Linked DNA regions of Homo sapiens: region 1 is linked to region 2. The links are contacts of gene promoters, found by promoter capture Hi-C in blood cells and fetal thymus (Javierre and others, 2016). All regions are on one chromosome and are shown on one strand. The core of a region is centred on a gene start or on the middle of the fragment in contact, and the rest is flanking DNA. Distances in the headings are between cores, read along the strand shown.

What was found. Contacts are between HindIII fragments. The CHiCAGO score rates a contact against its expected background, and 5 or more counts as called.
Region 1: a fragment that was not itself captured here is called in contact with the fragment with the promoter of MFNG in region 2 in 1 of 17 cell types (non-activated CD4 T cells); the score reaches 5.6 in non-activated CD4 T cells.

The regions. Positions count from the first base shown.
Region 1 is chr22:37,116,666-37,122,281 of GRCh38, forward strand. No RefSeq gene overlaps it. Among named protein-coding and RNA genes, the nearest start is that of TMPRSS6, 9.8 kb to the left of the region's middle. The HindIII fragment of the contact is 4,309 bases long and covers 580-4,888 here.
Region 2 is chr22:37,483,275-37,489,072 of GRCh38, forward strand. MFNG (MFNG O-fucosylpeptide 3-beta-N-acetylglucosaminyltransferase) reads right to left here and starts at 3,110. Exons shown (of 8, transcript NM_002405.4): 1 at 2,649-3,110. The coding sequence starts at 2,903. RefSeq lists enhancers at 1,995-2,054, 2,455-2,504, 2,981-3,490, 3,491-4,002, 4,003-4,512 and 2 more and a silencer at 3,075-3,204. The HindIII fragment of the contact is 3,313 bases long and covers 179-3,491 here.

The sequences.
Region 1 (5,616 bases), core at 1,484-3,983, 370 kb before region 2:
AGAAGTTGAGGCTGCAGTGAGCCATGCTCCTGCCACTGCACTCCAACCTGGGCAAGACCCTGTCTCTAAAAAAATAAAAATGTAAGGAGGTTAGGAAGCAGCAAGGAAGATTTTTTTTCTAGAGCCTTCAGGGAGAGAATGAGCCTGCCAACACTTTGATTTTAGATAAGAATAAAAAGAGAGGGGGGCCGGGCGCAGTGGCTCACGCCTGTAATCCCAGCACTTTGGGAGGCCGAGGCAGGTGGATTACGAGGTCAGGAGATCAAGACCATCCTGGCTAACACAGTGAAACTCCATCTCTACTAAACATACAAAAAAATTAGCTGGGAGTGGTGGCAGGCGCCTATAGTCCCAGCTACTCGGGAGGCTGAGGCAGGAGAATCTCTTGAACCTAGGAGGCAGAGGTTGCAGTGAGCCGAAATCCACCACTGCACTCCAGCCTAGACGACAGAGCAAGACTCCATCTCAAAAAAAGAAAAAAGAAAGAACAAGAACAAAGATGTAAAAGAAATAGAACAAGTCTCAGTTGCTGCCCTTGAAGAAAGCTGCCAAGCCTAGGGAAACAGACAGTGGGACAGAAGCTTGGCAGGCACTTGGCCCCGCCCACCACGTGACAGCACCCGGTGGAGGACAGGACCCTCAGCAGTACATGGAGATGCTTCTTATGTGCTTGGAGGAATAAGAATCCACCAGAATGGCCTGTCACCAACAGGTGTGGGACCTCTCAGGAGTCCCCATCTCTGTGGCTTGTCTTCCTCCATCTGTACAGGGATTTAAGGATCCTAAGGCTTAGAATAATCTATGGCTTACAATACAGCTAACCAGACCCAGGATAGGCCTGATCTCCAATAAGAAAAATGGTCACTTCACCCATCTGAGGTGAGAAAGTGGAGTTTCAGAGCAGTGATTTGCTTGATGTCACACAGTCAGGAAGTGCTAGGAGCTGGATTCAAACCCAGGACCCTCTGGCTTCAGAGCCAGTTGTCCTTCCCAGTGACACCTTCTCCTGTCTCTGTGTTCCTTCCCACTGCCCACACCACCACTCCTGAGCCCTCGGCCTCTGTCTCAGCCCTGGGTCCTGGCCTCTGGCCTCTGTCTGAAGATGCTGCTAGGACAAACTCACCACCAGGCCCTGGCATGCCCAGTCGCTTCTTTCCCAGATGGGCAGTCGGGGTACAGATGCTGATCAGGGGTTTGGGGTTTGGGAGGGGCTGCTTCAAGCCACCTTGGGGACACAGAATGGAAACTCTGCATGCATCACTCAGCCTGACCTTCTCCTCCACTGTGGGATTGTAGCAGGTGGGGCTCCCAGAACAGATAGGGGGACTATATTAGTCCATTTTCATGCTGTTATGAAAAAATACCCAAGACTGGGTAATTTATAAAGAAAAAGAGGTTTAATGGCCTCACAGTTCCACATGGCTGCGGAGGCCTCAAAATCATGGCAGAAGGCAAAGGAGGAGTAAGGGCACGTCTTACATGGTGGCGGGCAAGAGTGTGTGCAGGGGAACTGTCCTTTACAAAACCATTAGAGCTCATGAGACTTATTCACTATCACAAGAACGGCATGGGAAAAACCTGCCCCCATGATTCAATTACCTCCCACCTGGTCCTTCCCACTACACGTGGGGATGATGGAAGCTACAATTTGAAATGAGATTTGGGTGGGGACACAGCCAAACCACATCAGGGAGCCAGACCCAGAGAGTGGGTGGAGACTACCCAAGGTTGCACAGCAATGCTGAGGCAGGGCTGGGACTGGAACCCAGGTGACCTGATTCCCAGCCTGTACTCTTCCCAGTATACTGTCCAAAAATGAATTCTAAAAACTAAAACAAAAGAACAATATTACTTATTTCCATATACATAAGGCTTTAGGCAGAGAGTCAACAAAAATTTCCAAAGGACACAAAATTGCAATTTTCAACTTTTTTTTTTTTTTTTTTTTTTTTGCCTCAAAACATTGCAGGCAGAGCCTCCTCTAAAGACAGTCCGGTTTGTGGGACTAGCTCTTGCCCTTGAAGGGGGCCCTGTCCAAGGTCACAGACACCTAAATTTCCCCAAGGAGGCTCTTTCCTGCTGCCCTTTCATGGGAAGACCCCAGCACTCACTCAGGTTCCCCGAGTACCTCTATTCTCCTTGGTCATCTGTGTCAGACAGCTGTTGACTTGGTGGGCCCGAGAGAGCTCCTGATACCAGTCGGCTCTGTTGCCTCTTCCCTCCACGTTGGTTTCTCAGAACCTTGGTCATTCCAGGTTTTCAAAGCCTCTAAGTAACTTCCCCTCCCACCTTTCCTTCCTTCCTTTCTCCTTTTCCTTTTTCCCTCCTCCCCTTTGCCCATTTACCAACCTACACATCCATTCAACGAACAACCTGTGGCAGGTGCTGGGATTCAATAATGGATGGATCACGGAGGATCGAGGATCGTTAACTGGAGAGAGTTGCAGCTGAGCTCAGCAAGCAGGGGGTGGGGGCACGGAGCAGCCAGCACACCTGGGGTCAGGAAGAAGTGATCTTTACAATAAATCCCGCAGGATGCTCTTCCTTTCTCCCTCCCTCTCTACCGTGCAGACACATTTTGCTTGGCTTGCTTGTTTTCTGTTTTTAAAAGATGAGTGGCCAATATTTAAAAATAAGGACACTTTGCAGGAAAAACTGAATTTTCAGCTTCTCTTAAAAATGTAGAAGATCAGGCCTGCGCAGTGGCTCAGGCCTGTAATCCCAGCACTTTGGGAGGTGGAGGCGGGCGGATCACCTGAGGTCGGGAATTCAAGACCAGCCTGACCAACGTGGAGAAACCCCGTCTCTACTGAAAATACAAAATTCGCCAGGCGTGGTGGTGCGTGCCTGTAGTTTCAGCTACTCGGGAGGCTGAGGCAGGAGAATCGCTTGAACCCGGGAGGCTGAGGTTGCGGTGAGCTGAGATCACGCCATTGCACTCCAGCCTAGGCAACAAGAGTGAAACTCTGTCTTAAAAAAAAAAAAAAAAGTAGATGACCTAGCTGATCCCCAACATGGCAACAATCAGCGATGGCTGCCCTGGAGCAATTTCGGTTTGACACAGACCTCACCACTCCCTATTGTATCACACTGCATGGGTTAAAAAGAGTTACTAGAGTCAGGAGCCTGAGTTTGAGTCCTGGCTCCACCACTTATTTGGCCACATGCCCTTGAGCTACAAGGTATTTGATTTTACTGGGCCTTCATTTCCTCATATAGAAAATGAGACAGTAAGCCTAAGTGTTGTGAAGATTGACAGAACCTGTGTGAGGAACTTAGAACGGGGCCCGCATCTACTGGGTGTACACCATCAGCATTTCATCACTGCAGCTAATATCTACCCAAACCCCAGTCCCTGTCAGCATCTGAGTTTGGGATCCCAGCAGCAAAGGTTTCATTGTTAGTTTCATATTTGCATAAATTACAAGCAATAGAATTCTCTCGCCAACATGTACCGTTCCTGGCTGATTGCTCGGACTGACAGTGTAACGGGTGCTCTCCTACACCCACTGTTACGAGAATCACTGGACCGTTGGCCGGGGACGGCCAGCCACCCACCATCAAGCCCGTTCCAAGCAACCCGAGCTCTCTCAAACCGAAATGTCCAATTTGAACAGTCCAGTGCACATAGTAGAAGCTCAATAAATAGATTAGAATGAATGAGCAGTAGTTACTGGGCACAGGGTGGGCTATCTTTTTTTTTTTTCTTTTTTTTTTTTTGAGACAGAGTCTCACTCTGTTGTCCAGGCTGGAGTGCAGTGGCGCGATCTCAGCTCACTGCAGCCTCCGCCTCCTGGGTTCAAGTGATTCTCCTGTCTCAGCTTCCTGAGTAGATGGGGCTACAGGCGCAGGCCACCATGCCCAGCTAATTTTTTTGTATTTTTAGTAGAGATGGGGTTTCACCATGTTGGTCAGGCCGGTCTCAAACTCCTGACCTCAGGTGATCCACCCACCTTGGCCTCCCAAAGTGCTGGGATTACAGGAGTGAGCTACCGCACCCGGCCTTTGAAATTTCACTTCTTCACCCCATTTTAGATGAAGAGACTGAGGCTCAAAGGGGCCAAGTGGTACAGAATTGGGAGGGACAAAATGTCCTCGGCCCTGAGCTAGGCGGGTGGCAGCCAGCACGGCTGGATTTGAGAGGTAGGAAGAAGACCTCATAGGTTTCCTTCAGCATTTGTCACACCTCCTAGAATCTTGTCATCATAGATTTGGGCCTTATCTCAAACCATCATCCCCCAAGACCTACCCAGGTGCTTGAGGGAGATGAGCTGTCAGGATTAGGAGGTTGGAAAGGGCAGGGAGGTGGCAGGAGACACCAAGCCTGCAGGTGTCCAGCTCATCCCCTGCCCCAAACAGCCATCACCAACACAGCAACAGAGTATCCAAAAGGCCAGCCAGCAAGTCAGCAGCTTCCACATCTCTGGCCCCTGGCTGCCCTGGTCACAGCCCTGTCTCTGTCTGTCTCTCCCACGGCTAGCTCTTCTCTCCTAAGTACTTTACATTAACTTACTTCTTTTTTTGTAACAGGGCCTCACTCTGTTGCCCAGGCTGGAGTGCAGTGGCACGATCAATGCTCACTGCAGCCTCAATCTCCTATGCTCAAGGGATCTTCCCACCTCGGCCTCCCTAGTAGCTAGGACTACACGTATGTACCACCATGCCCGGCTAATTTTCTGTATATATTTTTTGTAGACACAGGGTCTCACCATGTTAGCCAGGCTGGTCTTGGACTCCTGGGCTCAAGGGATCCTCCCACCTGGACCTCCCTAAGTGCTGGATTACAGGTGCAAGCCACAGCACCCTGCCACATTCAATTATTTCTTTCATCCTCACAACAGTCCTGGTATTGTCCCCTTTTACAGATGAGAAAACTGAGGCACGGAGAAGCTTAGGTATTTGTCCAAAGTCACAGCTGATAGGCAGCAGGGCCAGTACTTAACCCAGGCTGCGGGGCTCCAGAGTGAGGGGGCCAGTACTTAACCCGGCTGCGGGGCTCCAGAGTGAGGGGGCCAGTACTTAACCCGGCTGCGGGGCTCCAGAGTTAAGGCTATAACCACTATGCCACACTGCCCCAAGGTGTCCACAAAGGCTGAAAGTGTAGAATGAAGGGGGCTTTGCTCGCTGCTGGATCCCCAACACCGTGACTTGCAGGTACTAGGCCCTCCTAAATGTCTGTTGAATGAATAAATGAATGAATGAACAATTCCTTCCTCTTCTAAGAACCATCCTCAAGCAGCTATCCAAAACTACCTGAACTCTGGCTCAGCCTCTCTTGCTAAAGCCCCGCACGGCATTCCACAATTCCTCCCCAGGTTAGAAGACTCCACCAGAGTGTTCACTGGCACCATTTCCTGATCAAGGCTTGTGCTCACAGGACCGGGTTGATTTTCTTCCACACCGAAGGAGGGCTGTGATCAGCTGGTCTACTTGTATGTGTCCTCCAGAGTCACTCCCTCCCAGACAAGGTTGGAGACTCTTTGTGGACAGAGCAGTAGCCGGCCTCCTCTCTGTGGCCAGTGCCCAGCATGAGGCCAGGTAAATAGAGGAATGGGAGATGAGACATTGTCTGCCAGCTCTGCTCCTCCCTCCGTCTGCATCCTGGCTTCCTGGAAT
Region 2 (5,798 bases), core at 1,860-4,359:
TCACCTGCTGCCTGCTTTGCTGCAGGCCCTCCTCCCTGGCCTCCCTGCTCCCTGCCTCCACCCCAAGTCGGTTTTCAACACAGCCTCAAGGGATCCTATCAAAGAAACCAGGCCTTTCCTACCCTGCCCTCGACAAACTTTTGCCACCAAACAGCCACCCGATAGTGAAACACTCTCAAGCTTGGAGCATGGGCCAAATGGGCTGAGGACTGTTTCCCGGTGAAGATCTAGTAAGCCTGAATAAAGCAGGAGAATAGGCACTTTGGGAGGCCAAGGCAGGTGGATCATTTGAGGCCAGGAGTTCAAGACCAGCCTGGCCAACATGGCAAAACCCCATCTCTACTAAAAATAGAAAAATTAGCCGGGCGTGGTGCGCATGCCTGTAGTCCAAGCTACTCAGGAAGCTGAGGATCACTTGAAACCAGGAGGCGGAGGTTGCAGTGAGCCAGGATCGTGCCACTGCACTCCAGCCTGGAAAACAGAGTGAGACTCTGTCTCAAAATAAACAAAACAAAACACCAGCAGCCATGAACAGAGTGAGGGAGAGAGCCGGGAAGGGGAGTCCAGGTCCAGAGGGGGCGGGGGCACAGGAGAGGGCAGTGAGGCTGGCGCTTTCAGTCCCTGGGAATCCTAAGGTTGGCACAGAGCGATGGGCAGAGTTTCTTTGGAGCCAAGGGCTGCATTTGACTTGTTTAAGGAGGGGACCTGACAATGGTGAAAACTTCACAGGCAGCCGCGGGAAACAAAGGGACACGCAGCCTGCTGGGGCAGGGGAGGGGTGGCCGGGGACCATCTGCTGCAGAGGAGGGGAGTGGTGGGGCTGCTGCCACCTCTCCCCCCAACAAGGGGACCATAGGGAGGAGAAAGGCTCGCCTTGAGCACAAAACCCGCCTCCCCCAGCCCACCCCCTCAGCCCAGGACAAAGGCCGGCACACGAGTCCCGGCCCCTGCCGCAAGGCCCACCTGCCACCCGACCGCCCTTAACCAGCCAGGCGGGCGCCCAGCGCTGCAGTTAACCAGCTCAGGCCCGGTCCAGACACTCCTGCCCCGTGCAGATGGGGAAACTGCGGGCCGAAAGGGGAGGGCCTTGGCTGAGGTCACAGAGAGAAGTGAGCCAAAGGGTGAGAGACGTGGGGTAGCGACTCCTGTAGCCCAGTGACCCAGTCCTCACAGGGTTCCCAAGTCTCAGCAGGGGAGAAAAGCACCCAACCAGGAGCAAGGTTCTAGGTCCCACTGGGCTCTGTCCCCTCAGGCCTTCTGCGTGACACCACGCCAGCCAGCACTTCCTCTCTCTGGCCTCAGTTTCCTCATCCGGGGCAAGGGCACCACCGCGGTGATGGAGATAAGACAGGAAAGGGCCGTGGGCCACGTGAGGCCACGCTCCCGGGTACACAGACGCATAAACAGGAAGGCCTGCGGGAGGGCCCGCCTTGGCTGCTTCCGCAGGAAGAACCAGGATCTCCCCAAGATGAGAAGCCGTGTGGGGCCCAGAGAAGAGCTGAGGTGCTGGGGGCCAGCTGGGGAAGAGTTAATCCCAAGTACGAGGGCAGAAATCAGGGCAGGGTGCCCCTCCCCAGGAGGGCCTGGCCTCTGCCAGCCATCCTCTCCCCCTCCTTTTGGTCTTCCAGGAGGTCTCGACTATCTCCAAAGACTCAGTCACTTCCTCCCACTGAGCCAGCCGCCAAAGAGGGGACCGATGTGTGTGTGTGTGTGTGTGTGTGTGTACCCATTCTCCACCTCCCCCATCAACGGTCCCTAACACCGACATCACTAACTTTGCTTAAGGAAGATACTGGATGCGAGGAGGGAAAGGGCTGGAAGGGACTTGGCTCGCCGGAGCCGCACAGCCATGTGACAGACATGCCTCTTGTCACACACATCTAGCACACTCCAGCTCCGTGCGTGTGAGCACACACACACACACACACACAATCCCACGTGCCAGGCAGGCCTCCCCAACCTCCGGCCCACCACTGCCTCAGCCGCCACCCTCGTGGCATGCGCTCTCCTTCCCTCCCTCGGAAGCAGTCCGCAGGAAGCCAACACAGGAGGCCAGACATGGCGGCCTCGGCACACCCGGGGCAGCAGAGACACAGCGGCAGGGGCTATCGGGAAGGCCGAAGGGATGCCTCCCCCAAGAACAGACCCCACCATTCTCCTCCCGTCCTCCACCCTCAGAGCCCGGGCAGGACAGCACCTAGGGCCTGGGTGGGACAGCCTGGCCTGGGCACGGGTCTGGGTCAGGACCTCTTGGAGGCCTCCACCCCAGCTGCCCAACACCCACCATTACCCCTGATGCCAGGCTGGGCCTGGGTGGCTAGGAGCGAAGCCCCCACGGGAGCGGCTAGGAATAGAAGAACCCCCAGGAGGGACCCGGGAGCCTGGAGCAGGGGCCCAGCCTGGCCCCCAAAAGTGGTGGAGCGGTAGGACCTGGGTGCACCTGGAGTCAGGACCAGTACAGGGCACGGGCAGGGCCGCAGGCAGCCCCTAAAGCCCGGAAGAAGGAGAGAGGAAGAGGATCCCTGATTAGGCAGGTATTGAGCAGCTTCTCCCATGAGGCAGTCAGGGACCCCAGCCCAGTAGAAAGGCCTCTGAGAACCCCTTAGGCCAGGGGCCACCCCCAGGGCCCAATGTCACCCACTTGTCACCTGTTCCCTGGTCCTGGAAACCCACGTGTCAAGCAGCAGCTCCAGGCGCAAGCGGTGGAAAGCCCGGGTCGTCTTCACTGCAATGAAGACATCGTGTAGCTGTAGCTTAGGGGGCCCCGGGTTCGGCTGGCTCAGCTCGGGGGTCCCTTGTACCCGCTGCGGGGACAGGTTCAAGTGGTACCGCAGACACAGGAGCCCCATGCACAGGAGGGTGAGGAGGGCTCCAGCCAGGCCCCGCGGGAGCCGGCACTGCATTGGTTGGCCCTGGGACCCCAGACAGCTCAGCCCCCAAATCCCAACCAGACAGGGAGGGGAAGCTGGTCAGGCAGGGGCTCCAGCAGAGGCAAAAGTCTGGCAGGCATCAGGGGCTGGCAAGGAGGGAAGAGGTAGGAGCTGAGGCTCTGGACCCAGAGGCTGAGCCATGGCAGCACGATCTCGACCGCCGCCAGTCCTCCACCTGCTCCCGCTGTCCGGCCTGCCGCAGCCTCCGGGACCGCCTGGCCCCGCCCCGCTTAGCCCGAGGGGCGGGGCCAGACGAAGGGAACCCCAGACAGAGGCGGCTGAAAGGAGGCACCAGCAGAAAGGGCAGCCCCGGCTCTGCCAGCTGCTGCGGTGGGAGGAAGTCACAACAAACCCTCCGTGCCCGGTGGAAGGGAGTGTCCTCCAGCACCGTCCACTCCCCCAGAGAGCTGTCAGCTCGGCCCATTCAACACCCATTACTTTGGTGTCCTGCTTCACCCAGCCCCCAGCTTTTGCTCACAGGTTTCCTCCGGGATGCTCTCCCATATTCCACCAGCCTCACCCACATTCCCTCCACTAGGCTGAGTTCTATCTGGACTTCAAAGCTTAAGGGTTCCCTCCTCCAGGAAGCCTTCCGTGATAACCTCTTAACCTCTGGGGCTCCCACAGTTGTTCGCTCAGTTCCTGAGGTCTTCACAACAGCACTGGGACTGTCGTTCCCAGTTTATAGCTGAAGACATAAGGCACAAAGGCACAGAATGAGCAAAAACGATCCAGCAACTCAGCCGCAGAGCTGGCAGAACCCAGGTCTCTGTTCCTCATCTAGTTCACAGGAGGTCCCCTGAGGGCACCTGTCCAGCTGTGCCCCAGCCCATACCCGACCTCACTCCGCAGTCTCTGGAGCTGCCTCTCTCCCAGCACCTGACCAGTGGACAGACAGAGGGCCTTCTCCAGCCACCACCTCCATCTTGTTTCGCACAAGCTCACTCACACCTCCTCCCTCCTCCACTCAGAGCCTGCACTGGCTCCCATTTTCTTCAGAACAAAAGCCAAAACGCACACAGCAGCCCACAAGGCCCTGCGTGAGCTGGCTCCCAAGTTACTCCCACCCCATCTCCTGCTACTCACCCTGCTCCACTCCAGAACCTGGGACCCTCGCTGGCCCAGGCACCTGGCCGCCACAGGACCTTGGCACTTGCTGTTCCCACCTGGGCCCCTCCCTAGAGACCTGCACGTCTCACTCCCCCACTCCCTTCTGGTCTTTACACAAAGGTCACCGTCTCTGTGAGGCCTTCCCTGACCACGTTATTAACATTGCAACCCCTCGCCGCCTCCTTCCCAGCCCCCCAGGCCTGTCCCTCTCAAGCCACTTCACTGTTTTCTTCATCACACTTTTCATCTTCCAACATTCTGTATGTTTAACTAAGTTTCTGTCCTCCTCATGAGAATATCAGGGCAGGATTTATTTTTTGATCACTGAGTCCCTAATCCCCAGTGCCTAGAACAGTGACCGGCAGACAAGAACTCAATCAATGTTAATTCAACACAACAAAGTACCAGGTGGCTGGCAAAGGGAAGTGGCCCTGCCGGGCTCAACCCTGCATGAGGACAGCTGGGGGAGAGGAAGGGAAAACCAACCCTTTGAATGACCTTCTCATGGGCCAGCCCCCAGCCAGGCCCCTTCACAGGCCATATTCTCAGAATGGTGATGATGCCAGCCTTGGTGATGATCCCAGACTCTGTACCCCACAGACCAGGTTTAAATCCTGACTGGGGGCTGGGCGCCATGGCTCACGCCTGTACTCCCAGCACTTTGGGAGGCCAAGGCAGGCAGATCACTTGAGGTCAGGAGTTCAAGACCAGCCTGGCCAACATGGTGAAACCCCGTCTCTACCAAAAATACAAAAATTAGCTAGGCATTGTGGCAGGCACCTGTAATCCCAGCTACTAGGGAGGCTGAGGCAGGAGAATCACTTGAACCCGGGAGGCAGAGGTTGCAGTGAGCCGAGATGGCGCCATTGCACTCCAGCCTAGGCAACAAGAGTGAAACTCCATCTCAAAAAAAAAAATTCCCAACTGGGCCACTCACTGGCTGTATGACTCTAGGAAAGTTACCTTCATCATTTCTAAAATGGGGACAAAAATATGACTTGGTGACGATTACAGGATGAGTGGGCTTCTCCACCCCACAGAAAGGATGCTTGACACGGGGAACAGGCAAAGGCAGCCAAGTCACAGGCCCCTGCCTTTCCCCAGGCCAAGCACTGGGCCAGGCTCACTGTGGGGCAGGGGGAGGTTCATGTACCCAAATGCACACAGCCCAGTTTCCATGCCCAGGAAGCCACAGACATCGAGAGACAGCCACACAGACACCCTCGTCCCACCACAAGGCAGAATATGGCATGGGCCAGGAGAAGTCCCAAGGGCTGGGAGGACCTGGTGGTGGGTTTCATGGAGATACGTAATATCTCAGCCAGGCTTCAAAGATCAGGAAGATTCAGGCAGGGAGAGCAGCCCAGGCAGGGGCCACATGAGCAGAGGAGCACAGCTAAGGGTAAACTGAAAGGCCACTGCCACTGCCCGCGGTGGGGAGGATGTGGCTGGGGGGATGGGAGAGTCAACACCTGGGAAGGCCTGGAGTAGAAAGCGGCATTGCCGCTGATTCCCATGCAGGGAGGCTGCCCTTCCCCCAGGGCACCGCCTTTGCCACTCAGGGTCCAGCTCCCCAGCCCCTACCCCAGTGGTGACAGACTGGCAGGCCTCCAAGTCCAATCTGCACCTTGTCAAAGACACCCTGTCGTAGAGAGTGGGAAGACCTTTTCCCAAGCAATGGCTCAGCCCCAGCCACACGTGCTCACCTAGCCGTGGCCAATCCGTACCTCCATGCTCACTCCACCATCCGGGCCTCCA